Regions from separate parts of the Homo sapiens genome. Here regions 1, 2, 3, 4, 5 and 7 are each linked to region 6. The links are contacts of gene promoters, found by promoter capture Hi-C in blood cells and fetal thymus (Javierre and others, 2016). All regions are on one chromosome and are shown on one strand. Each heading gives the region's core, a stretch centred on a gene start or on the middle of the fragment in contact. The rest is flanking DNA. Distances are from core to core; before and after follow the strand shown. Region 1 overlaps LOC107984311 (a long non-coding RNA gene). Region 2 overlaps DKK3 (dickkopf Wnt signaling pathway inhibitor 3). Region 3 overlaps USP47 (ubiquitin specific peptidase 47). Region 4 overlaps USP47 (ubiquitin specific peptidase 47). Region 5 overlaps MICAL2 (microtubule associated monooxygenase, calponin and LIM domain containing 2). Region 6 holds the start of EIF4G2 (eukaryotic translation initiation factor 4 gamma 2). Region 7 overlaps USP47 (ubiquitin specific peptidase 47).

Evidence for each region. The method cuts DNA at HindIII sites, captures the fragments that hold promoters and counts their contacts. A CHiCAGO score of 5 or more calls a contact.
Region 1: a fragment that was not itself captured here is called in contact with the fragment with the promoter of EIF4G2 in region 6 in 2 of 17 cell types (total CD4 T cells and non-activated CD4 T cells); the score reaches 5.8 in total CD4 T cells.
Region 2: a fragment that was not itself captured here is called in contact with the fragment with the promoter of EIF4G2 in region 6 in 1 of 17 cell types (non-activated CD4 T cells); the score reaches 5.3 in non-activated CD4 T cells.
Region 3: a contact is called between a fragment that was not itself captured here and the fragment with the promoter of EIF4G2 in region 6, in 1 of 17 cell types (total CD4 T cells). The highest score is 5.3, in total CD4 T cells.
Region 4: a fragment that was not itself captured here is called in contact with the fragment with the promoter of EIF4G2 in region 6 in 1 of 17 cell types (naive CD8 T cells); the score reaches 5.5 in naive CD8 T cells.
Region 5: a fragment that was not itself captured here is called in contact with the fragment with the promoter of EIF4G2 in region 6 in 1 of 17 cell types (M0 macrophages); the score reaches 5.1 in M0 macrophages.
Region 7: a fragment that was not itself captured here is called in contact with the fragment with the promoter of EIF4G2 in region 6 in 2 of 17 cell types (naive CD8 T cells and naive CD4 T cells); the score reaches 6.9 in naive CD8 T cells.

Annotation. Positions count from the first base shown.
Region 1 is chr11:11,827,538-11,831,454 of GRCh38, forward strand. The region is part of intron 2 of LOC107984311 (a long non-coding RNA gene); the gene reads right to left. Among named protein-coding and RNA genes, the nearest start is that of USP47, 12 kb to the right of the region's middle. The HindIII fragment of the contact is 3,456 bases long and covers 485-3,917 here.
Region 2 is chr11:11,961,880-11,965,460 of GRCh38, forward strand. DKK3 (dickkopf Wnt signaling pathway inhibitor 3) reads right to left here. Exons shown (of 7, transcript NM_001018057.2): 7 at 1,157-2,807. The coding sequence ends at 2,585. It overlaps USP47 (ubiquitin specific peptidase 47), which reads left to right. Exons shown (of 28, transcript NM_001282659.2): 28 at 1-8. Among named protein-coding and RNA genes, the nearest start is that of DKK3, 45 kb to the right of the region's middle. The HindIII fragment of the contact is 3,439 bases long and covers 251-3,581 here.
Region 3 is chr11:11,910,429-11,914,358 of GRCh38, forward strand. The region is part of intron 8 of USP47 (ubiquitin specific peptidase 47); the gene reads left to right. Among named protein-coding and RNA genes, the nearest start is that of USP47, 70 kb to the left of the region's middle. The HindIII fragment of the contact is 1,884 bases long and covers 1,718-3,601 here.
Region 4 is chr11:11,929,284-11,933,112 of GRCh38, forward strand. It overlaps USP47 (ubiquitin specific peptidase 47), which reads left to right. Exons shown (of 28, transcript NM_001282659.2): 12 at 151-282; 13 at 761-837; 14 at 1,413-1,468; 15 at 3,721-3,829. Among named protein-coding and RNA genes, the nearest start is that of DKK3, 77 kb to the right of the region's middle. The HindIII fragment of the contact is 4,291 bases long and covers 1-3,566 here.
Region 5 is chr11:12,126,725-12,130,347 of GRCh38, forward strand. All of the region lies in intron 1 of MICAL2 (microtubule associated monooxygenase, calponin and LIM domain containing 2), which reads left to right. Among named protein-coding and RNA genes, the nearest start is that of MICAL2, 18 kb to the left of the region's middle. The HindIII fragment of the contact is 2,625 bases long and covers 141-2,765 here.
Region 6 is chr11:10,807,222-10,810,967 of GRCh38, forward strand. It overlaps EIF4G2 (eukaryotic translation initiation factor 4 gamma 2), which reads right to left and starts at 1,705. Exons shown (of 22, transcript NM_001418.4): 1 at 1,484-1,705; 2 at 34-160. The coding sequence starts at 74. LOC101928053 (a long non-coding RNA gene) reads left to right here and starts at 2,076. Exons shown (of 3, transcript NR_120540.1): 1 at 2,076-2,145; 2 at 2,636-2,700. RefSeq lists enhancers at 478-557, 1,288-1,547, 2,058-2,107, 2,183-2,789 and a silencer at 1,828-1,877. The HindIII fragment of the contact is 4,879 bases long and covers 1-2,658 here.
Region 7 is chr11:11,879,351-11,883,082 of GRCh38, forward strand. USP47 (ubiquitin specific peptidase 47) reads left to right here. Exons shown (of 28, transcript NM_001282659.2): 2 at 827-1,030. Among named protein-coding and RNA genes, the nearest start is that of USP47, 39 kb to the left of the region's middle. The HindIII fragment of the contact is 539 bases long and covers 1,048-1,586 here.

The sequences.
Region 1 (3,917 bases), core at 963-3,462, 1.0 Mb after region 6:
ATTTAGACAGGTTCTTGCTCTGTCACTCAGGCTGGAGTGTAGTGGTGCTCACTGTAGCCTTGACGCCCCGAGTGCAAGCCACCCTCCAACCTCAGCCTCTCAAGTAGTTCGGACTATAGGCACATGCCACCATGCCCAGCTATTTATTTTTATTTTATGTTTTCGTAGAGACAGAAGTCTTCCTATGTTGCCCAGGCTGATCTCCAACACCTGAGCTAGAGCAAGCCTCCCACCTCAGCCTCCCAAAGTGCTGGGATTACAGGTGTGAGCCGTTGCACCTGGCCACCCGTGTCTTTAATGATGAACTTTGCTCTAAGTTGTTAAGTCTCAGGACATTAGCCAACAATAGTAAGACATGTATTGAGTTTATAAATAAATTAATCAATATATATTAGTGATTTATGAAATAAACATCTGGTCAAAAATAATTGGAGAACACTGCCCCCAAAATTAACAGCTAAACAACTTTCTGTGGTAGTCCAGAAGCTTACACTTCAAAATGCTTATTGTAGTTACTTTCTGGAAAATGAGTTTGTGTGTTGAAAACAGTTTTAAGATTCAAATTCCACTTATTACATGTAGACTTAAATAATACTGAATTTTCCCAAACTACTATAAAACATTTTATAAAGACAAAATTTATTTCTAATAGATTTCTCTACTAATAACCAAAAAATGTGTAAGTTCTCAGCATGACATTTGTAATTCTCTTCTCCAGGATTCCCGCGTTGCTTTTGCCTGCCAGGAATGTCTTCACACTTGTGTGTCTATTGGGACGATCAGCACTCAGTTTAGTCTTGGCCATTACATGAAGCATACGACCCATACTGGGCCAATCATAGGTAAAGGGGACCTTTTTTTCTCTCTCTCAAACATTTGACCAATCATCTTGAGGTTCAATTGTCATGTTCACATATAATCCATTTCTCTACACTCAGGTTTATATGTGCACATCTATTATTCTATCTTTCCATCATGCTTGTTTGTTTTAGTCATAGCTAGGGCTTCTGTGTGTGATTGTTCAAGCTGTGCAATGCACGCAGATGCCTGGCTAAGGGTGAGTGAAGGTTCAAGTCTAGCCCAAGCTGTGCTCAAACAGCTGTGAGTTCTGGAGTGCCTTCCCCAATTTTCATGTTGGCTAGCGCTGTTCTAACTAAATTGTGAGCTTCCTGAGAGTAGAGAACATTCTTAGTCGTCTGTTTGACATAGTTCCTGGCAACACGCCTTGTCAGAAGACTCTTAATAAATATCTGTTGAATTGAATTTCAGAGTACATTTTCCGACATAAATTCTGACATGCTCCATCATTTTTAATCTCCTTTATTCAATTATGCAGGCAATAAGTCACCAAACTGACTTTATGCTCTCTTAAGCATCTATCACAATGTCAAACACCTTAGAGATATTTAATGGAGATTAATGTATTATGATAAATGACTATTGCTCATTTTCTGTTCTTTCCATCACATTTTCTGATCTATTTTTATGGTCTACCTTCTAAATTTTATTTATTATATTTTATCTTCCAAAGAATCTTGTATGATTGTAGTGCTCACACACATAATAAATTTTGAAGTTTTTGTGGTTAAATCAACTGAGACTTTGAGTCTGGCTAGGAATTTATGATTCCTCATAAGCAACAGGGCCATGTATACGACAAGAATCCAATCTAAGTGTTGATTATGGGCAACAATGGTGATGATAATTAGGTTTAAAAGCCTATGCTCTGCCAACACATTAGAAAATTAGATAACATTTCTGAAATATTTTTAAACAAAAGATGACCTAATTATCTGTACCTGTAGAAAATTTTATCAACAGTTAGCATCTAAGTATCATTTTCAATTTTTTCTACCAGAGGACTCATGTAAAAAGATAAGATGATACTCCTTTACTTGCATGTTTTGGTCCATGAAAGACTTTGACAAGTTTAGGTGGCATTATGCAAAAACACTACCTGCTCTATCAGATGAAGACAGAGGAAGAAGAAAGGGATAGCAACTGCTAATTACCTTCTTAAAGAAAATGTTCAGCCGGGCGCAGTGGCTCATGCCTGTAATCCCAGCACTTTGGGAGGCCAAGGCGGGTGGATCACCTGAGGTTGGGAGTTCAAGACTAGTCTGACCAACATGGAGAAACCCCGTCTCTACCAAAAATACAAAATTAGCTGGGTGTGGTGGCGCATGCCTGTAATCCCAGCTACTAGGGAGGCTGAGGCAGGAGAATCGCCTGAACCCGGGAGGCGGAGGTTGCAGTGAGCTGAGATCACGCCATTGCCCTCCAGCCTGGACAACAAGAGCAAAACTCTGTCTCAAAAAAAAAAAGAAAGAAAGAAAATGTTCACTTTTAGGGAAGGAGATTGTTAGTCTTCCAGAAAAGAAACTACAAGAATTAAACAATTAGATCTCTTAAAAAATGATGAGGAAGTGGGATCATTTAGTCTAGTGAAAATCACCAAACAATTAGATGAGTAGAAACATTTAAAATTTAAAGAATCAAGCTACAGAGCCCATTGGCTAAAATTTTTAAAGAAAGATCTAGAGATTTCAGATCGTCCAACTCTGCTAAAGAGTGAAAATGATTAGCCATTACTTTCTTCCACTGTAGGTAGATTGCAGTTACCACATAACGAACCAGAAGGTTTAAAGATTGTATCTGTAGAAGCAACTGAGGCTTCACCTATGATGAAAGACTTTGGAGTCAGACTGCTTAGGTTTAAATCCCAGTTCCATTATTTATCTATTTGCCTTATGACTTTGGAAGTTACTTAACTTCTCTATTCCTGTTTCCTTGTCTGTAAAATTAGGATAATAATTGTTCCCAAATCATAAAGTTGTTATGGGGAGTAATAAGATAGAGTGTGTAAAATACTCCATACAGAGCCTGGACCATAGTTAAGAGTAAGTACTCTACAAAAACTTGTGTTTGTCATTAGAGATACAATAAAAAGTTATGAACCAAAGTGGCCAGTAAAAAAAATGAAAGTTTTTATATACTGAGCATCTATAATGTGTCAGTCATTATGTTAACCAGTTTTCATACATTATTTCTTTTAATTTGTTGTCTTCGAATTATTTTAAAAGAATTAAAAGAACACAGTATGATTTAATGTGAAAACGAAAAAGAGAAGATTCCAGCTGGGCACGGTGACTCACGCCTGTAATCCCAGCACTTTGGGAGGCCTAGGCAGTTGAATCACGTGAGGTCAGGAGTTCGAGACCAGCCTGGCCAACATGGTGAAACCCCGTCTCTACTAAAAATACAAAACTTAGCCAGGCGTGGTGGCATGTGCCTGTAATCCCAGTTACTCAGGAGGCTGCGGCAGGAGAATCACTTAAACCTGGGAGGTGGAGGTTGCAGTTAGCCGAGATCACACCACTGCACTCTGGCCTGGGTGACAGAGTGAGACTCTGGCTGAAAAAAAAAAAACAAAAAAAAGAAAAAAAAAAAAGAAAGAAAAAGAGAAGATTCTAACTAACTCTTTACTTCCACCGACATTGAGAACTTCCATTCCAGTGACTTAGAGATAATTACTACAAACTTTTCTGAGGAGAGGAGGAAGGGGGAGGAGCATATTCTTCTAGAGATTTCTATGCTTATACTGGTGTACATATTTATAACACCATCTTTCAGTACACAAATGCCATACATACAATCCTGCAAGTTTCTTTTTCTTATTTGTTATATCTTGATCTTCTATCTCACCTTTTTTAAATAAACTTTTCATTTTTGCATAATTTTGGATTTACAGTAGAGTTGCATATTAACATTTTACATAATCAAGGTGTGTCCGGAGTTGGTTCCTTCTGGTGAATTCTTGGTCTCGCTGACTTCACAAATGAAGCCATGGACCTTCACGGTGACTGTTACAGCTTTTAAAGGTGGCACAGTCCCAAAGAGTGAGCAGCAGCCAGATT
Region 2 (3,581 bases), core at 720-3,219, 1.2 Mb after region 6:
GCCCCTCCCACATTTCACTCAGGACTGAGTAAAGGAGACACTCAGATGCTACTCAGATGCTGGCTTCAGCTAAGTATTTTGCAAAGCCTCTCGTGTTCTTACAAGTTTGTGGCTATCATGACAAAATGGAGCAGCCTACTATATCTACATATACAACTATGGGGGACCTAGTTTTATCTCATTTACCACAATGTTTTCAATCATTTTTTGGATGACATAATTTTTAGCCTCTTCTCTAAATGCTTCCTCAAGCTTTCCTTGCCTTCCAGCCACTGCAAATGACTTGCAGTTTCCCCTACATGGCACCTGACCCTTGTGCCTCCCTCCCTCTGCCCATGGCCCAGAAAGCCCTTTCCTGTGCCCTCTGGCTTCCTGATAAACTCCTATCATCTTCAAGAGCCAGTTCCCATGCCAGCTCTCCCCAAGTGCTCCACTGAGGCTTCCGTAACACCTCTGTTCCCACATCGGGTTGACTGTCTTTGTTTTGTCATTGCTTGCTCTGGCTGTGTCTCCCTCATTAGACTGGGATGCCTTCAAGGTAGGGACCCTATCTGGGTCAGCTTGGCACCCCAAAGCGTACCACAGCACCTGATTCTGAGGAGGCTCTCAGTAGATATCTGTTGAGTAACCAGAATGTAGGGTGGTCCTGATGGTTTCTGACATTGAATAGAAAACAGCTCCCTATTTGATCTTAAAATAATCACTATAACCTGGACATACTGTACTAGATGCTGTTTTTGTCTGACTTCTACTCTGTCAATCTCTTTGCACCTCCATTTGTTCATCTGTGAAATGAAGAAAATGCTCATGGAGTTCAGTGAAGATTAAATGAATGAATATAGGTAGACTGCCTAATCTGGCACTTGCCACGCAGCTGACTTCAATATAGTAGCTCTAATATTATGGTCCTTGAGGATCTTACTGTCTTATGGCCCAGAACTGCATTTGATTAAAGAAGGCTCCCCTAAAAAAAGAGTCATACATATTCCATTTGTCCTTTCAGAAGGCCGTGAAGCATTTACACTCTTTAAGACAAATTCCCATCCAAAAATAGTTAAGATTTCTAAAATATTTTGATGCTGAAAGAGGTGTGCTTCAGTTGGGTGGCAAATTTGCTTCTATGGAAGATTTTTAATACAGGTTGTTTCTATTTTACTTTTTCTGGCTGAAAGGATTTTACATTTATTCAAAGTCAAAAGGGAAAAGAAATCCAAGAACTACAGAAGAGCAGTTGAAGTGATTTATGCTTGATTTCTAAATGCAACTTATGTTTATACATAATTTAAAACTCAAAGAAAGCATGCTTATACAATCATGTGCAACTTTAAACTTTAAGAACTCTGGATGAATACATGGTGGCAACAGTCCATGACACCTGAAAACATCATTTGTGGAGTGGCGTAGAGTTCAGTGTTCGCAGTCGCATATTACAACCATGTTTCACACAGCCCTGCTCGGTTTGATTTTCTCCACGTGGTTGATAATTGTCTTCAGTTGCTGCTAAGTGATTTTGCAAATTTCATTTATAATCCTCGCCCTACAATTACCTAAGTACTGTTTCTGCAGGTTAACCTGTATGCTACGCTCAGTCATATACCTTTCAAAGTTACTAATGCAACTGCCAAAGAGGGACAGTGTCAATATCATTGTCTTCATTAGAAGGACGGCTGCCCCACACTGTGAGAACACTGCTGTTCCTAACAGTAGTTTACTTTTAGAGGGATGTGAGAATTAGTTTGACCTTAATTCCAGATGTGCATGCCTCAAAAGAAAAATCCCATTCTCCTTCCTTTTGGGGAGCACTTTTGGTGGCACCAAGGCTGGTGTGGGGTAGTGGAGAGAGCACTGAGCTTAGAGTCACAACCAGATGAAACTGCTCTGGTCTTCACTAGCTGTGTGACTTGGGCAAGCAGCTTGCAGTCTCTGAGCCTCTGAGATCCCTGATGGACGAGGAGAACAATGACCCCCTCCCCAGGCTGTGCTGAGAGAGGGAATTGATCTTGGATATGAAAATGCTGCCCTGGCACAGAGGTAGGAGCTGAGCAACACTGCTGGATGAATAAACACATGTAATGCAGGGTGAACAGAACATTTCATCTGCAACAGCTGAAGGCACAGCTTACCTATGCCCATGGAAAGAACTGCGTGGAAAATTCATTTGTTGCATTTTTGCCAGGTTGATGTTTGCAAAGCAGGGCACTCTTCTCCACATTTCCCCAAAACCAATCAGAGGGAGACTCCACATTGTTTCCATCTCCTCCCCTCAAACAATTATCAAAGCCATGTAGAACAAACGGCTGTCTGCCAACTGGTAGAGGCAAAGCAGCCAATAATCTGGACAGGGGTGGCAAACTGCTCCTGCAGTTTAACCCTGCCTGACTCTCCCAAGCACCAGACTGTGAAGCCTGGAGAACAGCCTGGGGGAGCTGAACAAATGCACAACACCTCATGCTGTCAAGCCAGAGGGGAAACTTACTGGGAAGAAGATGTAGGAAGAAGCCTGGTCAGCCCACGCCTAAAGCACACACCTGGGGAAATAAATTAGCTATTTCTATTGCACATCTACCCACAGCCTGGTCCAGATCTAAATCTCTTCCCCTCCCAGCAGTGCAGCGGCGGCAGCCGCAGGCTCCCTCAGCGCCATCTCTTCAGTCAGGCTCCTCTCCAGGTCCTCCAGCTCCTGGCGCACCTCCTCCATGAAGCTGCCAACTTCATACTCATCGGGGACCTCTCTGGGCAGCAGGATCTCCCCATCTTGGTCACGGCTCCCCACGAAGGTCGGCTTGCACACATACACCAGGCTGTGGCTGGGGAGAGATGGGACAAAGCCAGGCTCTAAACGTGGGAGCCTGCCCAGGCCGAAAGCTAAGGCGCCCTGACTCTGTGGGGCTCCCAGCCTCACCTTCATGCCCCCTCCTCTCCTGTCTCTTCAACAGAGACACTTCACTTCCCGTCAACATCTATCTTAAAATGATGGCTGAGGGAGGCTCACTTTGGGAGAATGTGCTGGTGGGGGGCAGCTTCCCCTCCTCCAGCGCAGGCCTGACCTCCTGTGACTCTCAGGCCCCGCAGCCCAGGGGCAGGACCTGAGTGCTATGTAGCAGCACCACAGCCCCTCAAAGACTGTGGCCCATTCGGGCCTCCAGGCAGGAGTCAGCCTGACTCTGGGGTGTAGTCTAGCCACATGCAGGGAGCCATGGACCTCTGTGGGAATAGGGAGGAAGAATTCCTTTTTTTAAAAAAAATTAATGTGTTTGGTAGAGACGGGATCTCCCTATGTTGCCCAGGCTGGTCTTGAACTCTTGGCCTCAAGCAATCCTCCTGCATTGGCCTCCCAAAGCTCTGGGATTACAGGTGTGAGCCACTGCACAGAGCCGTGGGGAATGGGAGTTCTGCCTGTCTGCCCAGCAGCCCTGGATTCTGTTGGGAGAGAAGACTGAGTAGAGGCTGCGGGGAGGACAGGGAGATGTGCCCTGAGAAGCTGGCCAGGCTTGAGCCTCATGCCTCATGGAGTCTCAGCAGCCTCAGACAGTGTGGGCTGCACCCTCCACCTTGGTGGCCACTCCTGGCCTCCCCGTGGC
Region 3 (3,930 bases), core at 1,410-3,909, 1.1 Mb after region 6:
TAACTGCTGTGCTCTAACCAAACACCACAGAAAGAAAAGGCCTTACATCAACTTGTGCCTGCCAGTGCTGAGTGGGGAGCCTAGATTCTCTGTTCCTTCACCACCTCCCAGGGGTAAAGAGGCGAGCCCCTCCTGCTTGTGTCAGTGTTGGGGTGTAGTACTGAGATACTCCTGCCCTTTACAGCCAAGGTTATATCAGCAGAGGCCTACTGAATACCCAGAATTCCTTTCCCTGCGCAGCACTAACAAGGAGCTTCCTCCATTCAGATGTCCACATAGGCCAAGTGGGAAACCTGGACTTCTAATGCCATCTGGCACTAATATGGCAGAGCCCTTTCCCCAGATGGTACAGTGTCAAAGGAGGCATTTAAACTAGAAGGTTTAAATATGGTCCAGAATCTCATAACACCCCAAATGTCCAGGTTTCAATTAAAAAATCACAAATCTCAGTTTGAGTTAAAAAAGAAAACCAGTAGACATAAACACTGAAATGACAAAGATGTTAGAATTATTTGATAAATATTTTAAAGCAGCCATCATAGAAACACTTCAGTGAGCAGTCCTAAGCACACTGAAAACAATGAAAATTTTAGGGAATCAGTTAGAGATACAAAGAAATGAAAATTTGGAACTGAAAACTGCAATAAGCAAAATTAAAAACCCAGTGGATAGGCTGAACAGCTGAATGAAAGAGACAGTAGGTCGAATCTGTGAACTTGAAGATAGAATGATAGATATTACCCAGTCTAAACAGCAGAGAGAAGATAGACTGAAAAAAATATATATCCTCAAGGACTTATGGGACTATAACAAAAGGTTTAGCACTGTGTCATTGGAATACTGGAAGGAGAGCAAAGGTGTAACACTTGTGTCATTAAAGTCCTGAAAGGAGATTAATAAGGAAAAAGAAGGCAGGCACAAAGAAATAATGGATGAAAATGTTCCAAATTTAGCAAAAGGCATAAACCTACAGATCTGAGTAGCTGAGCAAACCCCAAACACAATAAGCCAAAATAAATCAGGAATGGCCATATTAGTGTCAGATAAAGAAGACTTTAGAGCAAAGAAAATTACCACAGACAGAGAGGGCTGTTACATTGTAATAAAAGTGTCAAACAACCGAGAAGACAACAATCCTAAATGTGTATGCAGAAAATAACACAGCTGCCAAAATACATGAAGGAAAAACTGTCATAACTAAAAGGAAAAAGACAAATCTACAATTACAGTTGCAGACTTCAGCACGCCTCCCTCTCTTACTGATAGGTAGAACAACTAGACAGAAATAGCAAAGAGGTAGAACTCAGCAACACCATCAACCAACAGATCTAATGAACATTGCTAAAGTGCTTCACCCAACAGCAGCAGAATACACATCCTTTTCAAGTATCCATTAAATATATACGAGGATAGACCATATGCTCTGGACCATAAGACCTCAAAAAATTTAAAATCATGGAATGTGTGATTTTTTTCAACAACAGTGGAATCAGATTAGCAGACAGGAATATCACAAAACACTTGGGAAATAACACTTCTAAATGATCCATGGGTCAAAGAGGAAGTCTCAAGGGAAATTTTAAAAATATTTTGAACTTAATGAAAAGTAAAACATAACGAATTTTTTTGAGGCACAACTAAAGCAATACCGAGAGGGAAACTCACAGTATTAAATGCTTATACTAAAAGACAGGAAAAGGGCCAAATCAGAAATCTAAGCTTCCACCTAACCTGAAAAAAGAAGAGCAAAAGAAACCCAAAGCAAGCGGAAGGAAGGACATAATAAAGAAAAGCCGAGAAATCAGTAACATTGAACATGAGAAAACAGTAGAGGAAGTCAACAAAACAAAGGGCTGGCTCTTTGAAAAGACAATAAAATTGACAAATAGCAAGACTGACAGAGAAAAAGGGAAGGCAAAAATTTCCAGTATCAGGAATGAAAAGGATATAACTATAGATCTTGCAGATATCAAAGGGATCACAACAAACAACTCTGCACATATAAATTTGACAACTTAGATAAAACGAACCAATTCTTTGAAAAGAACTCAATAGGAATTAGATAATTTGAATAGTCCTGTAACTGTTAAGGTAATTACATTTATAATTTAAAACCTCTTGAAAGGAAATCTCCAAATCTTGATTGTTTCACTGGATACTTGTATCAAACATTCGAAGAACAGTGAACACCAGGTCTGTACAATTTCTTTTCAAAAAAAAAGAAAGGAAGAGGAGGAAACCCATAGTCCTGTGACACTATTCTTACCTGATATTAAACCAAGACAGTTCTTAAAAAAAACAGTATCCCTTATATGTGTAGTTGGTAAAATTCTTTCCAAAATATTAGCAAATGGAATTAAGCAATTTATAAAAAGAATTATATATTGTGACTAGGATTGATTTCCGGGATTCAAGACTGGTCAGTATTTTAAAAATCAATGAGTATAATCTTCCATATTAACGAGCCAAAAAAGAAAATTCATATGATCATATCGATTTAGAAAAGGTGCTTAATAAAATTCAAAATTCACTTATAATAACTCAGATTACTAGGAATAGAGGGAAATTTCCTCAACTTGATTAAAAAACGTATCTAAAATATCTATAGCTAACATCATACTTCATTGTGAGAGACTGCTTTCTTCCTAGGGAATGGCACGCTTGTCTAGGCAAGGATGTCTGCTCCTACCACTCCTTTTCAGCATAGTCCTAGAAGTCCTAGCCAACACAGTAAGGTAAGAAGAGGAAATGAAAAGCACTACTAAAGGAAGAAATAAAATTGTCTGTATTTTTAGGTGATATGATTATCTATGTAGAAAATCCCTTGTACAAAAAAAAAAAAAAAAAAACAACACCTGAACTAATACGTGAGTTTAGCAAGGTAGCAGGATAAAAATAACATAAAAAATAAATTGTATTTCAAGATACTAACAATGAACATGTAGAAAGTGAAGTTTAAAATACAATACCATTTATAATTTTGCAAAAAGAAAAAAGATGGAAATCCAACAAAAAATGTACTGGACCTATGTGTTCAAAACTACAAAACTTTGAAAAGATTATGTTAAATAAGCTAGGACCAGAAAGACAGATATTACATGTTCTCATTTACATGTGGGAACTAAAAATAAAGCTGATCTCATGAAGGTAGAGAGTAGAATGGTAGTTACCAGAGGCTGGGAACAGTGTGTTTGAGAGAGGCGGGGATAAAGACAGGTTGGTTAATAGGTACAAACATACAGTTAGATAGAATCAGTAAGTTCTAGTGTTTGAGAGCAGATTAGAGTGACTATAGTTAACAATATATTGTGTATTTCAAAATAGCTAGAATAGAAGATTTTAAATGTTCCCAATACAAAGAAATGGTAAATGTTCAAGGTGATGGATATCCTAAATAGCTTGACTTGATTCTATGCATGTATCAAGTATCACATGTACTTCATAAATATTTACAGTATTATGTGTCAAAAAAACTTTGAAAAGAATAAATGGAGAAACATACTGTACTTATTAATTGGAAGATTCAATATAGTAAAGATAATTACATAGTCTTAATGCAGTTCCTGTCAAAGTCCAGCAAGATTTTTTGAGGACATATACAAGCTTATTCCAAAATGTATATGGAAGCCTAAGAAACTAGAATAGCTAAGAGTTTTCAAAAATAAAAATAAAGTGGAAGTTACCAGTCTACATGATTTGGAATGGAATACTACTTAGCCAAAAAGACTTATTATATGGCTATAGTAATCAAGACTATGTGATATTGGTAGAGGGGTAGGCAAATAGATCCGTGGAGTAGAATAGAAAACCCAGAAATAGATCCACACAAATATGCCTAATTATTGACTGAGACACAAAAGCAAGTCAATGGAGGAAAAATGGTGTTTCCAACAAATGGTGATGGAACAACTGGACATCCATATCACAAAA
Region 4 (3,829 bases), core at 171-2,670, 1.1 Mb after region 6:
ATTTTTGTTTTACCTTAGGGGAAAGTTGACCTGTAATATATAGGACAACTTACCATGTTACTTCTCTGTGTGTTAACAGAGAATAGGAAATACACAAATAAGGGTTGTGTTTTCCTTCTCCTCTGAGTTACTTTTATTTTTTCCCCTTAGAATTCCTTGATCTATGAACTTTTCTCTGTTATGGTTCATTCTGGGAGCGCTGCTGGTGGTCATTATTATGCATGTATAAAGTCATTCAGTGATGAGCAGTGGTACAGCTTCAATGATCAACATGTCAGCAGGGTAAGGAGGTGTCCTTTAAGATTATTACTCTGAAAGGTGGGAGTAAGGATGTTTCTAAACAACAGTAAAGTTTATTAAGAATGAGTGAATCTGTCTAGTGATACATCTTAAGACCCATATCAAATCTGTCTTTAATTTTTGCTTTTAGTAAAGTTCTTGCCTTTGTTTATTATTTCTTTGTTTTGCTTTGTTTTGTTTGGGGCTTGCTGAATATCTCCAGAGATAGACTACCAATTTTCCTCTGGGCCTGAACCTTCATAGGTGCTACTTGTGCTTCACGTGTGATTAGGAATACTAGAACTGGCTGGCTGGTAAGCAGCCACTGATTATGATTAAATTTTGTGAATTGGTAGCTGTGTGAGCAATCATGAAGGTCTTTGATAGCATTTAACTCTGAGGCTAAAGATTGAGTTACATATTGACGTTAATGTGATAGTGTTATAGAATTTGCAAAAAAAATCATGTAACACATTTTCAGATAACACAAGAGGACATTAAGAAAACACATGGTGGATCTTCAGGAAGCAGAGGATATTATTCTAGTGCTTTCGCAAGGTAAGCAATTTCCTAATTTTCAGTGTTTAAAAGTTAGAATTAATTATAGCTTCTCAGTGTTTTTTTATCATCAAAGATTTAACCAAGGGATTGAGGAACTACAACCCATGAGCCAAATCCAACCTGCCTCCATATTTTGGAAATAAAGTTTGAACACTGACATAGCCATTTGTTTCTATATTATGTGTTAATGCTTTTACACTATAATAACATAGTTGAGTAGTTGCAGCACAGACCATATGGCCTGCAAAGCCTGTGATTTTTACTATTTGGTCCTTGCTGGAAACAACTTGCTGGCCCCTGACTTAACTGTTGTATGTAGACATTCCAATACACAGTTTTGTTAAAGACTTTACTGTATTACCAAGAGGAGATACGGAATCTTCTCTAAATGTGATAAGAGGAAACAGATTTTCCTCTTATCTGGAATGTTTTAAATCTCAGTGTGTCTGTGAACAGTGACATGATTTTCTAATTGTTTTTTAAAAAATCACAATTTAAATATTTCATGCTTAGAAGTGGAATCTTTTTAATCTACTTTTTGTCCTTATTAATCTTTTTTATGTTTCTACTAGTTCCACAAATGCATATATGCTGATCTATAGACTGAAGGATCCAGCCAGAAATGCAAGTATGTTTACCTACAGTTATTTGATTTTAATTTGTGTTATAAACTAATTTCTTTTGTAAGTTTGCAAACCCAGATAACTACTTTTAAATGATAGGATAATTAAGTTGTTTTATGCCTGGAAGAATTATTTACAAAGACTGTTACAAAATAATACCAAATGTTAAGGACCTTGAAAAAATGTTGTTGAATTATTTTTTAATATATGAAGAGACAAAACTACATTAAATAAATTGAATGTTTATTAGTAGTAAGATTATATTATGTGCAGTCTGATGTAGGGACGATAACATTTTTGGAATTATTGCTTTTAAAATATTGCAGTGTTTGTTTTTTCTTGCTAATTCTGACTCAGGCTGTATTACAAATATCTAGGGGGGTGTGTACAGATACATATACAGGTGATGTGTTTGCTCATAGTCTTTTCATAATTAAAAAAAATATAATCACAATCTTTGATTTCAGTATATTTCCTTTGTTTAGACACTACCGTTGCTATTAGTAAATCTGTTTCAAGCATTATGTTTTTATTCACATTTTTGTAAACCCTCATTAGATGGTGAATTCAATTGGTACAAGGCTTAGGACTTACTCATCTTTTCACATAAAGTATATTCTAGGATCTGTCATATAGTAATGTTCAATAATTTACTATGGAATTATTGAAAAAATAAATGGAAATTATAGTAAGTCATTTCAGAACAGAGATTTAAGAGCAGAAGTAATCATTTGTACTGTATTATAAAGAAACTACCCCAAAGAGTAAGCTGACCCAGGTCATAGCTATCTGGAAGCAGAGCCAGTATTGTAATTCATGTCCCTCACGTGGACCCAACCTTCCAATAGTGCAATAACTCAGCCTTCTTTTACTCCCCCAACTCTAGTTTTGTTATAAAGCACCAGAGGGCGCTGTATGACATGACATGGAATATTTTTTAAATTAGAGTTCTTTCCTAGAAACAACAGCTTTTACCTTTTACGGACACATGCTGTTTTTGATAAAATTTTTTTCCCCTTTTTAATGCCAAATAATCATTGGCTTTATTAAATGGTGTCATAATTTCATATTGTCCCTTTGAATGCTTTGAGTTACATATGAAGTTGTAATTATTAAGAAAAACTTTCGTAAAAATGATTATATGTGAGTCTATAGTAATGATTTTTTGCATATACTTTATTCTTTTAACTAATTGTTTAAAAGTAGCCTCACAAATTATATCAGGCTGTCCTCGCATTGCTATAAAGAAATACCCAAAACTGAGTAATTTATAAAGAAAGATTTAATTGTCTCACAGTTCTGCAGGCTTTGCAGGAAGCATGATGCTAGCATCTGCCCAGCTTCTGATGAAGCCTCAGGGAGCTTTCAGTCATGTCAGAAGGCAATATGGGAGCAGGCATTTCACATGGCAAAAGCAGGAGCAAGCAAGTTCCGGGGTTGGGGGAGGGGTGCCACACACTTTTAAATGACCAGAACTCATGAGAACTCAGTATGGCAAAGAAAGCACCAAGCCATGAGGCTTGACCCAGACATCTCCCACCAGGCCCCACCTCCAGTATTGGGGATTCCAATTCAACATGAGATTTGGGCGAGGACAGATGTCCAAACTATATCACATAATCATCACTTTTTGTATTCAAATGAATCTTGACCATATAGAGAGGGAGAAATCCAATAGATGAAGGTGTCAGTTTTATGACTCTGCATTCTTTGGTTAGGAAGCAGCTAAAGACTGCTTTGAGAACACAGGAAAGATAATAGTAAACAAATGGGTAGTACTCAGTAGCAGCAACAGCAGCAGTATTTATTAAGTTTTATTGTATCTCAGGTAGTAACTTTATGGGGTAGATGATATTAATAAGCTGAAGAGACCTACATTTGGAGAAGTAAACTTGCCCAAGGTCACACAGTTTGATGGGGATGGCATGATTTGAAGTCAGAAATTATTTTCAAGTTGCAGAGAGCTTTTTCATTCTAAAATATTAATCCACATACTGGAGTTGTTCTGGAGCCAAGAGCCATTTTGAATAAATACATGGCTCTTTAAGATATGGACCTAACCATGTGTCCCTGTTAACTGTCTCTTAACCCTTTTCTGGACGAAGCTTGTATTCCAAGTTGAGAGAAGGATGTAATGGAGATATATCTCCATGAGTGCTACAGTAGAAGTATATACCATGAGAGCATAGTGAAGCAGGATGAATAAAGGCAGCTCAGTTTCAGTGACACTGTCTTATCCTGTTTTTATTACTAATAGAATTTCTAGAAGTGGATGAATACCCAGAACATATTAAAAACTTGGTGCAGAAAGAGAGAGAGTTGGAAGAACAAGAAAAGAGACAACGAGAAATTGAGCGCAATACATG
Region 5 (3,623 bases), core at 203-2,702, 1.3 Mb after region 6:
AGTAACAGGAGATTTTCGCAACAGTTCAGCTCAATCATAGAAGAAAAACCACAAGGTAGTTCATGACTAATGTCCATCTGCCTGAAGGAGGCAGCGGTGGGTGTGGGGAGTGTTTTCTGTGGGCTAGGGAGGGCCTGGAAAGCTTCCTGGAGGAGGGAGCAGAGGTGGCGGCAGCAGCAGCATTTGATCTGGATCCTGATGGGTAGTTGCAGTGCAGATGGATAAGTTGGGAGTAAGAAGAGAGCATCTCTAGTGGGTGTTGAGGCCAAGAGAAATGGGGAATTGCCTGCTTTGAAGGTGGGCAGCGGGAAATGAGGCTAGGCAGGTGAGTTTAGGACAGATGCAAAGAGGCTTTAATGAGAGAGAGATTGAGTTGGAGTGTGTTTAACTTCAGAACAGGGATGGGAGGATGAAGGCCCAGGGTCTCACAGGGAACTCTTGTAAATCTCAGGAAGATAGGCAAGAAAGGGTCTAGCTCCAGGACATTTCAGTCTAGGCATCTCTAGCCTCCAGCCTCCTGGAGCCATTCTTTCACCATTGCTCTATGGGGACATTTTCTTCTTAGGCATTTTACATGTCTGCTCATTCATTCATTCAGCAGGTATTTATGAGCTCTTACTCTGTGGCAGGCACTGCTCTCAGTGCTGGGTTGCAGCAGGGAAAAAAACAAAACAAGATAACATCCCTTGCCACATTCCCAGAAGGGGAGAGGGACAATAAACAAGTGAGCTAAATGCGTGGGAGGCCAGGTGATGAGAGGTATGGTGGAGAAAATCAAAGCAGGGAAGGAGATGGTGTGTGCTGCATGGAGAGGGGAGCAGCTCGGGGAGGGCTGTAATTTTAAACAGAGTGGTTAGAGAAGGTTTCACTGACTCACCCTGTCACTGGGACTTTGGGAGCACAGGGAAGGAGGCAAGGCCAGATCCTACTGGGATCTTGAGCCCACAGTTGATCCTCTTCGACCTGTTGGGGGTCTTTGACTAGGCAGTAGGGAGTCTTTGAGTGCTCTTGAGCAGAGGAGTGACATGTGTGGGGAGATCTCCCTAGTGGCTTTGTAGGGGATAGGATATTGGCGGCTGAGACAGGGGAGCAGAGATTCAGGAGGAGATGACCACTGTAGACTAAAAAAGTCTACTCATTTGACACTTTCCTCACTGTGCTGCAAGCTCCACATCTGTAAATGGAGATAAAATGGTACTTACCATTTCAGGCACGTTTTCAAGAGGATGAAGTGGGTTACTGAATGTAGAATACTTAGACTAGCACCTGACATATAATAAGTGCCTAAAAATATTGTCTTGCTCTACTATCTGTCCCTCTGTCTGCATATACGTATGTGTGTGTAAAATTAATGTGTTAGGGACATCCTTTCTTGTCCTGAAGCCAAGTCAAATGAAGAAAATAATGGCGCTTTTCAGGATTAAATGAGATCATCCATGTTGTGGGTGTAGGTTAGTGGCAGATGAAAACCAGGTGAATACTAGTTAAAAGTACTACTGTTACCACCAGATCTTACCTTGAAGAAAATGATTTTGCAATGGAAATCCTTTGTAAAGTCTTCCTATTTAACAGTTGTTTATCAAGACTGCAACATGCCAGGTGCTGCACTAGACACATCCCATTTCATCTTTGCAATAACTGCCCAAGATAATAAGTGTTAACCACATCTTACAGATGAGGAAGCAGAAGCCCTGGACTAAGACTTGACAAGGTCACATAGCTGGTAAATGGCAGAGCTGGGATTAATCCATGAGTGTTCCATTGTGTAAATGTAAACATTGACATATAGGTTCTCATATCAGTCTCCCTTGGTATTAGGTACCCACAAAGAGGTGCAGGGAGAGCAGAGGCATGGCCAATTTCCAGGACAGATCGGGGCAGTGTGAATGTAGTGGGGAAAGCATGGGTGGGAGACACTGTGGGTGAAACAGTACCTTTCTTCAATGACTCAGCCCTGCAGGCTTTATCAGAGCCTTTCAGCCACCCTCTCAGAGTCTATCTGAAACCCATTTTGGTTTCCCAAAAGGAGCAGAGCCTGACAAGTTCAAATCCTGGCTCCAGCACTTACCAGCCATGTAAGTCCAAGATAGAAGTCAATTTCTTTGTGCCTCAGTTTTGTCATCTGCAAACTTGCTTCATAGGGTTGTTATGAGAATATCAGAGAAGCTATGTCAACACTTAGAACAGTGCCTGGCCCATAGCAAGCACTCTGAAAGAGTTATTATTATGTTAACAATTCTTATATTATTTTTATATTATAGTATTATTGTAAGTGCCTTCTTAATCTCTGAGGTCAGGGTAGAATGTCCATCCTCTCTGCAGGATCATTCTGTAACACATTCTGTTTTGCCTTATTATATAGATGTGGGTGTAGGTCTCCCCTTTACAAGACCATGAATAGAATTCAATCAGCATCTTTCTAAAATCCCTGAAGACTTGTGCCTTGTCCTAGAAGCTGTCAATAGAGACTTGGGCCAAAAGAAGTGATTCTTGGTTTTCTTTTACCCTTCAAGCCACATATTCTGACCTGAAGACCCCACCTCTCAGGATTTGGAAAATGTCTGATATTTCCAAAGGTGCTTTACAGTTTGCCAAACACATTCCCATTCATATTTCATTTGGTCTTCACAGTTACCCTGTGCGGTTACTGGGTACTGTCCCCATTGAACAGGTCAGGAGACTGAGGCTCTGCAGGGTTGAATAACTTGCTCCAAAACGTGCAAGTGGAAGGTAATGAAACACGCACCCCCCTTCCTATCCCAGAAAGCTTTGTTCTGGAGTTTCAGATTGACTCTTCCCCTAAAGCCATTCATCATTTCCCCCTTAGCCCTTTTCCTAAAGAGGACTGGGAGGAGGTCATGTGGTGACCAGCCGACCTTTATACAATTCTACTCTGTTTCTTCTTCTTCTTCTTTTTTTTTTTTTTTTTTTGGTGGTCCTCAATTACGTGGACAGTTTTTCATTTGTTTTTCTCTTAATTTTATGATTCATTTATTTATATGAGACAGGGTCTCACTCTGTCACCCAGGCTGGAGAGCAGTGGTGGGATCATAGCTCACTGCAGCCTCAACCTCCTGGGCCCAGATGATCCTCCCAGTTCTGCCTCTGGAGTAGCTGGGACTTCAGGTGCACGCCACCATGCCTGGCTAATTTTTTCTTTTGTTTTTAGTTGAGACAGGGTCTCCCTGTGTTGCCCAGGCTGGTCTCAAACTCCTGGACTCTAAGTTATCCTTCCATCTTGGCCTCCCAAAGTGCTGGGATTACAGGCGTGAGCCACTGCGCCCAGGCTATACAATTCTACTTTCACCCTTTGTTCCCAGGTCTTGTTACTCCCGAACTAAGCACATGGTGATGGCTTTGAGCAGAGCTGATTATTGGAGTTGCTCAAATCATCCCCACTCCATTGTCCCTTCTCTGTGGATCTGAGGTCTGGGCTGGGACTCAGCATTTGGAACTTGGTGGGGAGTGGGAGACAATGGGGGAGAGCATTGTAGCTTGAAGCATTTGCAGTGCCTGAGTATGAAATTGTCCTGAGCATAAATGTGCCATGAGGGACCCTGCAACTGAAGGTGGAGGAGGCAAGAGGAGGAGCAGGTGCTGAGGTGTAGAGCCCAGAATCACTG
Region 6 (3,746 bases), core at 455-2,954:
CAAAAGGATTCCCCAAAATAAATCTACAAGTACCTGAAACGAGAAGCACCCCCTTCTGCAATCGCACTCTCCACTTTGGCGGCTTGACAACGAAGAATCTTCAAAAGAATAATATTAATAGATGGGGTGGGGAGGGGAGGGGACAGGAGAAATGAAATACCTGGAACGAGAAAGAGCACCAAAATTAGACACTGCTAACATACAGATCTATAAGCCTTCATTCAATTACAACGTATTTCAGATCCTGGCACTGTCACTGCATTGCAGATCTGTAAGACTAACCTAAAATGTACTCAAAACACTGACAATTACATTTTGTTTAGCCACCTGGAAATTCCCCGGTGTTCAAGGATGCAAAGAGACTTCGTAGAACACAAGAGCATTTTAAACGGCTCAGAACGAATCTTTTGAAAAAGCCACATTCTACTATCTTTAAAACTGAGCACTGAGATCAATAGAAAAGTCTAACTACAGACACGAGCAACATCACGTGGAAAATGTCTGCCCTAGGAATTTTTACTGCCTTGACGAGGCCAGCGACTAGATGAGGTCTCTCCGAAAGCTCTTCAGCAGTTTTCCCCTGTCCACCCTTTCGCCTCCTCCCCGTGGAGAGCTCGTGGAAAGACGCGCGAGAGGGGGCCGGGTGTACAGGACTAGCACTTGCAGGCGGAAGACCAGGGCCACAACATGGCAGCAGGAACCTCCGCCCCGTTTTTCCCTTCCTGGGAACAAAAGAGCGGAGCATTCCTCCCACCCAGGCGCAAGTTAGGGAAGTGCTTCCGACAACCTCCCCGCGAGGCCCGGGTCGCTCGACGGGGAGGAGCAGCTGAGGCCACCCCCGCCAGCCCGGCGCCCAGCTCTTTGTTCTCCAAGCAGGAAGGCGGCCTCCTGCCCACCCGCCGCCTCCAAGCGGGCCCCCTCCTGCACCATAAATCCCCCCGGGACTGACAACCGCCTCGCCACGGCCTCCTCTGCTGACAAAAGGGGCAGAAATCATCACTCTCTCTTTCCTCCCCGACGAAGGGCAGCCCCTGCCGACTCCAGGTCCTACACACCTCCCCGCCGGGAGGCCAGGCTCCGGGACGCCTGCGGTTCCCTGGTCCCGCGCCAACGGCCTGGCCTTCCCTGCCGGCCCGCGTGCCTCCCGCCACGGCGCTAGCGGTCCGAGCCACGCTCCCTCGCCGTCCGAGCACAGCCGTGCCTCGGTCCGCCACGGCCTCGTCCCTGCAGGCGTCGGCCATCCGGCCATGACCGCACGGCGGCCTGGCCAACACTGACGTTTTCCTTCTACTCCGTCAGCAACAGGAAGAGAGAACAAAAGCCAAGACTTTCCAGGTATCTGAAGCGCAGAGGAAATGCTAAAAAAGGGTCGCCCCACCCGGCTCCGCCTGCGGCCGCCATTTTGTACCACTCGAGAAGAAGCGACCAGGGACGGCGGCCATTTTAGAGCGCTCCACTCGGCGGCGGCAGCGGCTCAACTCACCTTCACCGAGAACTCAGCAGCTGCCACCGCAGCTGCCTCCTCAGGATCCGGTCGTCGGGGATAGGGAAGGGAGGGGAAAGGGGAACGGAAAACAAAAAAAAGGGGGAGGGAAGGGGGAGGAAGGAGTCGGGGACGGCCTCAAACTCAGCTCAGAGGAGTCGCTGCTGCAGCCGCCACTCGGTACCCGCTGCCACCTCCATAGAGCTCCGACTCACTGCTGGCGCTAAGGCGTGTCTGAAGCCGAACTTATCACTCTTGGGGCAGCCGAACCCACCAGAGTCTCCCCGAATGGCTCCTTCGCCGCCCAATCAGCGGCCCGGTTGCCGTCTGCCACCAATCCGCGCAGGGCAGCGAGGAGGAGCCACAGGGCTGAGCTCGGTTGCGGCGCAGCCCCGCCGCAGTGCGCAAAGCCATATTCGCGAAGTCTCTGAGGCTGAGCCAGTGGCGTAAGGGGCGCCGAGCGCTGTCGAGATGAGGGTTGCGTGCGTAAAGCCGGAGAGCCCTTTTGAGTCTGCGTTGGCGTGGCTGCTGCTTCTTGCTCCAGTCCCTTTGTTCACTGAGTCCATATGCCATGCTCCAGTTGTATCATCCCCTTTTCCCTCGACCTCGTTTTCTCACCGGGAATATGGGAAGAAAACGCACCCTTACCTCCCCCGAACCCTGTGCGTGGCGAGTGAGCATTGCTTTTCTTGGCGCCCCTTGGAGCTGTGGCTGCCCTCGCGTGCCTGGCCTCTCCCGGGGCTGAGCCCTTCGGGTTGAGGCCTGGAGCCCCCGGGCGCAGCGCCGGGACACTACCCGGCTCCAGGTCCTCGGCTTCGGCAGCCTTAGGGAACCCAGAAAGTAGTGGGGAGGAGGCGAGACGTGCGCCCGGATGCCAAAGGGGAGCTTCATTCAGCTCCTTATTGGCCCACCCCCTGCAGAGTGAATGAGAAAGTGATGAAAGGAAGGGGTTGATTTTCTTCGAACCGCACAGAAGAAGCTGCTTTTCCCATAGGAATGTCCGGCTGGCGGTCACCGAGGAAAACACCCTGTGTGTCAGACTTCCGCGGGTGTTTGGAGGATTTCGAATTGCTAGCTCCTGTTTTTTTTTGTTTTTTGTTTGTTTAAGTGCACGTTAAACATTGTCAGTTGTGTATTTTCATTTTATTTAAGGTTCACCATAAGAAATAGGATTAAGCTTTTCAAAGCCGGCAAGTTGAACTATTTATACTTACCAGGTAATGTATTGATGAGTACCTTATTCCATCGTTTGCGACATTGTAGCTATACTAAAATGGAGTCATACTTCCATAAACTTAAACAACAAAAATGTCCCCATCTCCATTTTAACATGTAGTACTTTTACAGTGTATAGTCAAAGGCAAGAATGTGTGTGTTTTAACATGAATGACTTTTAAAGTGTTCAGTAAGAGGCAGGATTTTCAAAGACCCAAACTTAACCTTTGATGTGTCAAAACAGCTCTTGGTATTAGAGCACCTGGTCCTTAATACAATTTTCCGGAAAATTGCAGTTTTTCCTACGACATTTAAATGTAATAGAAGGCTGTGGTGTGGCTCTGAAGGTTTTTAACACAATTCCAACATCTGTAGATCTTTGCTATAGAATAGTCACCATTCCCTACTTTACTGTTACTACACTTATTGCTATTACATCAATTTTACTTGAACTTTAAAACTTGGAAGAGATATTCTAAAAAAAAAAAAAAACTATTTTGGGGTGGTGGTGGTGGTGCAAGTTTTGTTTTAAATACAAGAGGTTTCACTTTGTATTTCTTTGGACCCTTCTAGCTTCATGATAACACGAGAATAATGTTTCTTTATAATTTCTGTAGGGCTTTAAGGTTTGGAAAAATGCATTAGTATATGTGATATTTTTACATAACTGGTTTACATTCCATTTATCTGATAATGAACGAATACATTAGTTTACTAAGAAGAGTAGTATTCAAAAACTATTGTCTAGACTTCAAAGAGAATATTCACCTAGCCGTAAAAGTCGGATGTTCTTATAATTAAGACACTTAAAATTCAGTAATTAAAAATTTAAAAAAGGTTTTACTTAATATTTTATTTAATCTTTGCTAATTGGGAACCCTTTTGGTATGGGCTTTGCAGATATGAGTTTATGTGAGAAATTGACCTGGAAGGGAATAACCTAAGGTAGAAAAAGTAAAAATATTGATAAAACAATCTTTCAATTACCTTTCTCTCACTTAAATAGAAAGATTTGAAGTTGAAATCGTACCTGCAAAGCCCATTGCAG
Region 7 (3,732 bases), core at 67-2,566, 1.1 Mb after region 6:
GCCATTCATTGAGATGGCCATTATAGAAGGAGGGAAAGGAATTTCTTCCAATAAAGTATCTTTGATGTAGTCTTTTACCCCTGTGGAAAGTGGAAAAGTGGTGTCCTTTAACAGCTTGAGGGAGGGCATAGCTTATTTGAGAAAGTTTAAGCAGGAAGGATAATTTGTGACCCTAATTCCTTTCTGTATTGGTAATTGAAACTGTTTCCTTGTTTTTCCTTCCCCCTCCTCCTGGCTCATCTGTTTGGATAAGCTTGTCAGCCCCTGACACGTTAATAAATGGAGCTTTTTGGACATCTGGACTTATGAGTACAGCAGCATAAAGATCAGGAGATGTGGTAGCCTGTATCCCTTAGTTATAGATTTTTTAATCTTTAGACAATCCTTACTGCATTTTTGCACAATTCCCATTTTTTTTTAGGAGACCCAGAAATATTTGATTTGACTGTGGCTAGCATGGTAATGACACATTTTTTAAGGATCAGATTTTATAATTTTTAACTTAAAATTGCTTAAATATTACTATCTTCATGGCTTATTGACCATGGATTTACAGTCTTAAAGGTGAAAGCAAATATCTCCAAAAATGATTGTTGATTCTGAAATGTGCCTTGATTCTTCCAAAACAAACATATACGGTGCTTATATGTTTGACATATCCATTAGAATGCGTTTCAGACTACGATAAAACAGAGAAAATAGCACAGAGAAAATACTTAGTATTTCCTGAGGTCTTTTACATTTAATCATAAAATTTTATAGCTAATTATACTTTTGTTTTGCTTTAAAGATAATATATAAAGTCATATTTTTCTTAAAATTTCAGATAGAAAATGCTGCTGAAGAACCTAGAGTCTTATGTATTATACAAGATACTACTAATTCAAAGACAGTGAATGAACGGATCACTTTAAATTTACCAGCATCTACTCCAGTCAGAAAGCTCTTTGAAGATGTGGCCAACAAAGTAGGCTACATAAATGGAACCTTTGACTTGGTGTGGGGAAATGGAATCAATACTGCTGATATGGTAAAATCCTAGACTTAAGCTTCTAAAAATGTTATTATAGCCATTGTTGTTGTTGTTACTGATGATAATGTTAAATCCTGGAACTCTTAAAATCATAAACAAAAGTATAACAACTACAGTAAGAGCCTATGTGCAGCTCAGTAATTGGATCCTTCTTCTTCCTTTGCCTCCATTCTGGATTTAACATTTGCTCGTCCTAAAGTTTACATAATGTCATTTCATCAGTTTTTTCATTCATGAAAGGTGACTCTCATAATATTGTCTCAACTAAAGAAAAATTTCTATATTTACTGAACAGAATGATGATCATCTTATATTATTCCGTGAAAAAAGATTGTAAAATCATATTTTATGATCTGATTTTTGGAAAAGAAGAAAAATATTCATAGTAAGAAAAATGGAAGCATATATGCCTCATACATTACAGTGTTAACCAAGATTATCTCTAGCTGACTATTTCTTTTTATTTGTGTGTCTATGTGCATTTCTGGGCAACTTTTTTGTATGTTTATTTTTCTTTGTATGAACATGTGTAGCTTTTGACTTTTAACTCTTAAGCTTAAAAACATTTTTAACGACTGCAGTCTTGTCAGATCTCTTTGAGGGTATACTTTCTAATTTTAGTCGTCTGTTAACTGTTTCCTTAATTATTTATCCCTTATCCATTATATTTAGTTTCTCTCTTTCATGGTGTAGCATTTCTTTAAATATTTAGTGATTTTTATTTTCTGCTCATCTTTATATTTGAGAATCTCTGTTCACTTCTCTGTGAATGCTGATTAAACTTACCATATTCAGTTCTTGCTTGTTGTGGAAAAAGGGTGAGACGTGCTGCTAGGTGTGATGTGTTTATACTTGTTCTGGGATTGGCTGGCTTCTGACTCTTTAGGGTTAGGAGCTGATCAGTACCTTGTTAGACAGCACTGTGCTACCTCTCCGGTCACAGTGCCCACTCTTTACCCTGACAGGAAATAAGCACTGCTGTCTGCTACGTAGTCCAAGGAGAAAAAGAGAGGAGATACCAAACTGATCAGAATGCCTTTTCCTACTTCCTCACTTTTAGCTGTTTCCTGGCCTCTATGTCTTGACCTTAGTCTGAAGTTCCTTACTACCTTTATCTCCACAGTAGTCTTCTCTTATAGGATCTTTGGGCTGTGGTTCCCCTTAGTTTTATTTTTCCATAGATCTGATCCTGTCTGTTTTCTATTTTTTAATTTCTCAAAATTTTTGGTTTGCTAAGCATGCTCTTTTTTGACATTTTATGGACTTTAGGGGAGGATTATTGGTAGACATCTTCTTAGGTCATCATTTGACCTAATCTTGTATTAATGTTTACTACCAAAATAAACAATTGCAATTATTAAAAAAATTTCTAGGAATCCTTGATAGACATCTGTCCTTGGACCATTTTTATAAGGACACTGATTCCATTCATGAGGGCTCCATCCTTGAGACCTAATCAGCTCCTAAGGCCCCAACGCTTAATATCATTGCATTGGGGATTAGGTTTCAGCATGTGAATTTTGGGGAGACATAAACACTCAGAACATAGCAGAGGTACTGATCACTTTTGCATGGGAGTGTGGTTAAGGAAGAAGACCATTGAGTTGGATCTCATCTGCGTTATTAGAACAGTATTCTAGATAGCCTTTTTTGTTTCCTTTCTCTCTGTCCAAATTCACCCTACATAATAGTTAGAATTATTTTCAGTCATCTAAAGTTGTAGCACTTATGTCACCTTCTAGTTCAGTAACCATCAATCACTGCTCATTGCCCACTGATTAAAAATCTAAGACAAGCTATTATTGGTTCTTTAAGGCTTTATACTCTTAAATCCCAGATACTGGATTGGTTTATTTTCTTAACATAGATTTCCATATTTTTCTGTCTTAAGTTTTCCAGAAAAATACCTCTAACAGTCAGTGAAGTTGAATGTGTATCCCTATGGTATTTGGAGTACATATTTTAAGTTGGTCCCACAGGAGAATCAAAGATGTTTGATGTTGCCTGATTTGCCCTTAAAATCATATTATGCTTTTTATTCCATAATATATTTGTTTTTTTAAAAATATAGAACTAATGTTTTAAACTGAAATTAACCAGTAAAATTGGTAGTCGGACAAGACATAGAAAGATAAACAATATTTAATCTGAGACTTTGAACACTTTCTGGTACATCACCACATAATTTCCAGTGTTGTCCTTTTTCAGTTTAAAGGATAGTTGTGTACTGTCCTAGATGATATATAATATCATCTTTTACCCTTAAAAAGCCTTACTCAGTGTTTCCTCATGCCGCTTTAAAAGTAATTTTTTTCTCTTTGACCTCCTATGCCCTTTGGCTGCACCACTTATAGTTCCTTTTTGTTATAGGTGTTACTCATCTGTGTCTTTCCATTTCCAATGTCAGCATTTTCATTACAGGAACCTCGTATAAATTTCATATCCTCCATAAACATTCCTTCTAGGCATTCAAAAAGCATTTGTTAAATTATCTTCCACAATAGCTTTAAATAGCTGTATGTCAGGATTACCTGTTTCTTTCTTTTTAGCTATTACTGTACTCGAGCTCTATTTCTGTATTTTTATTTGCCTCCTGTACATTTCTACAAATATGACTACTTTCTCCTGCTTACTGCGTAGTGCTGAATGGATACTCCTCAGAAAACTAAGCCCATTTAGCTACCCACCACCTTGTATAC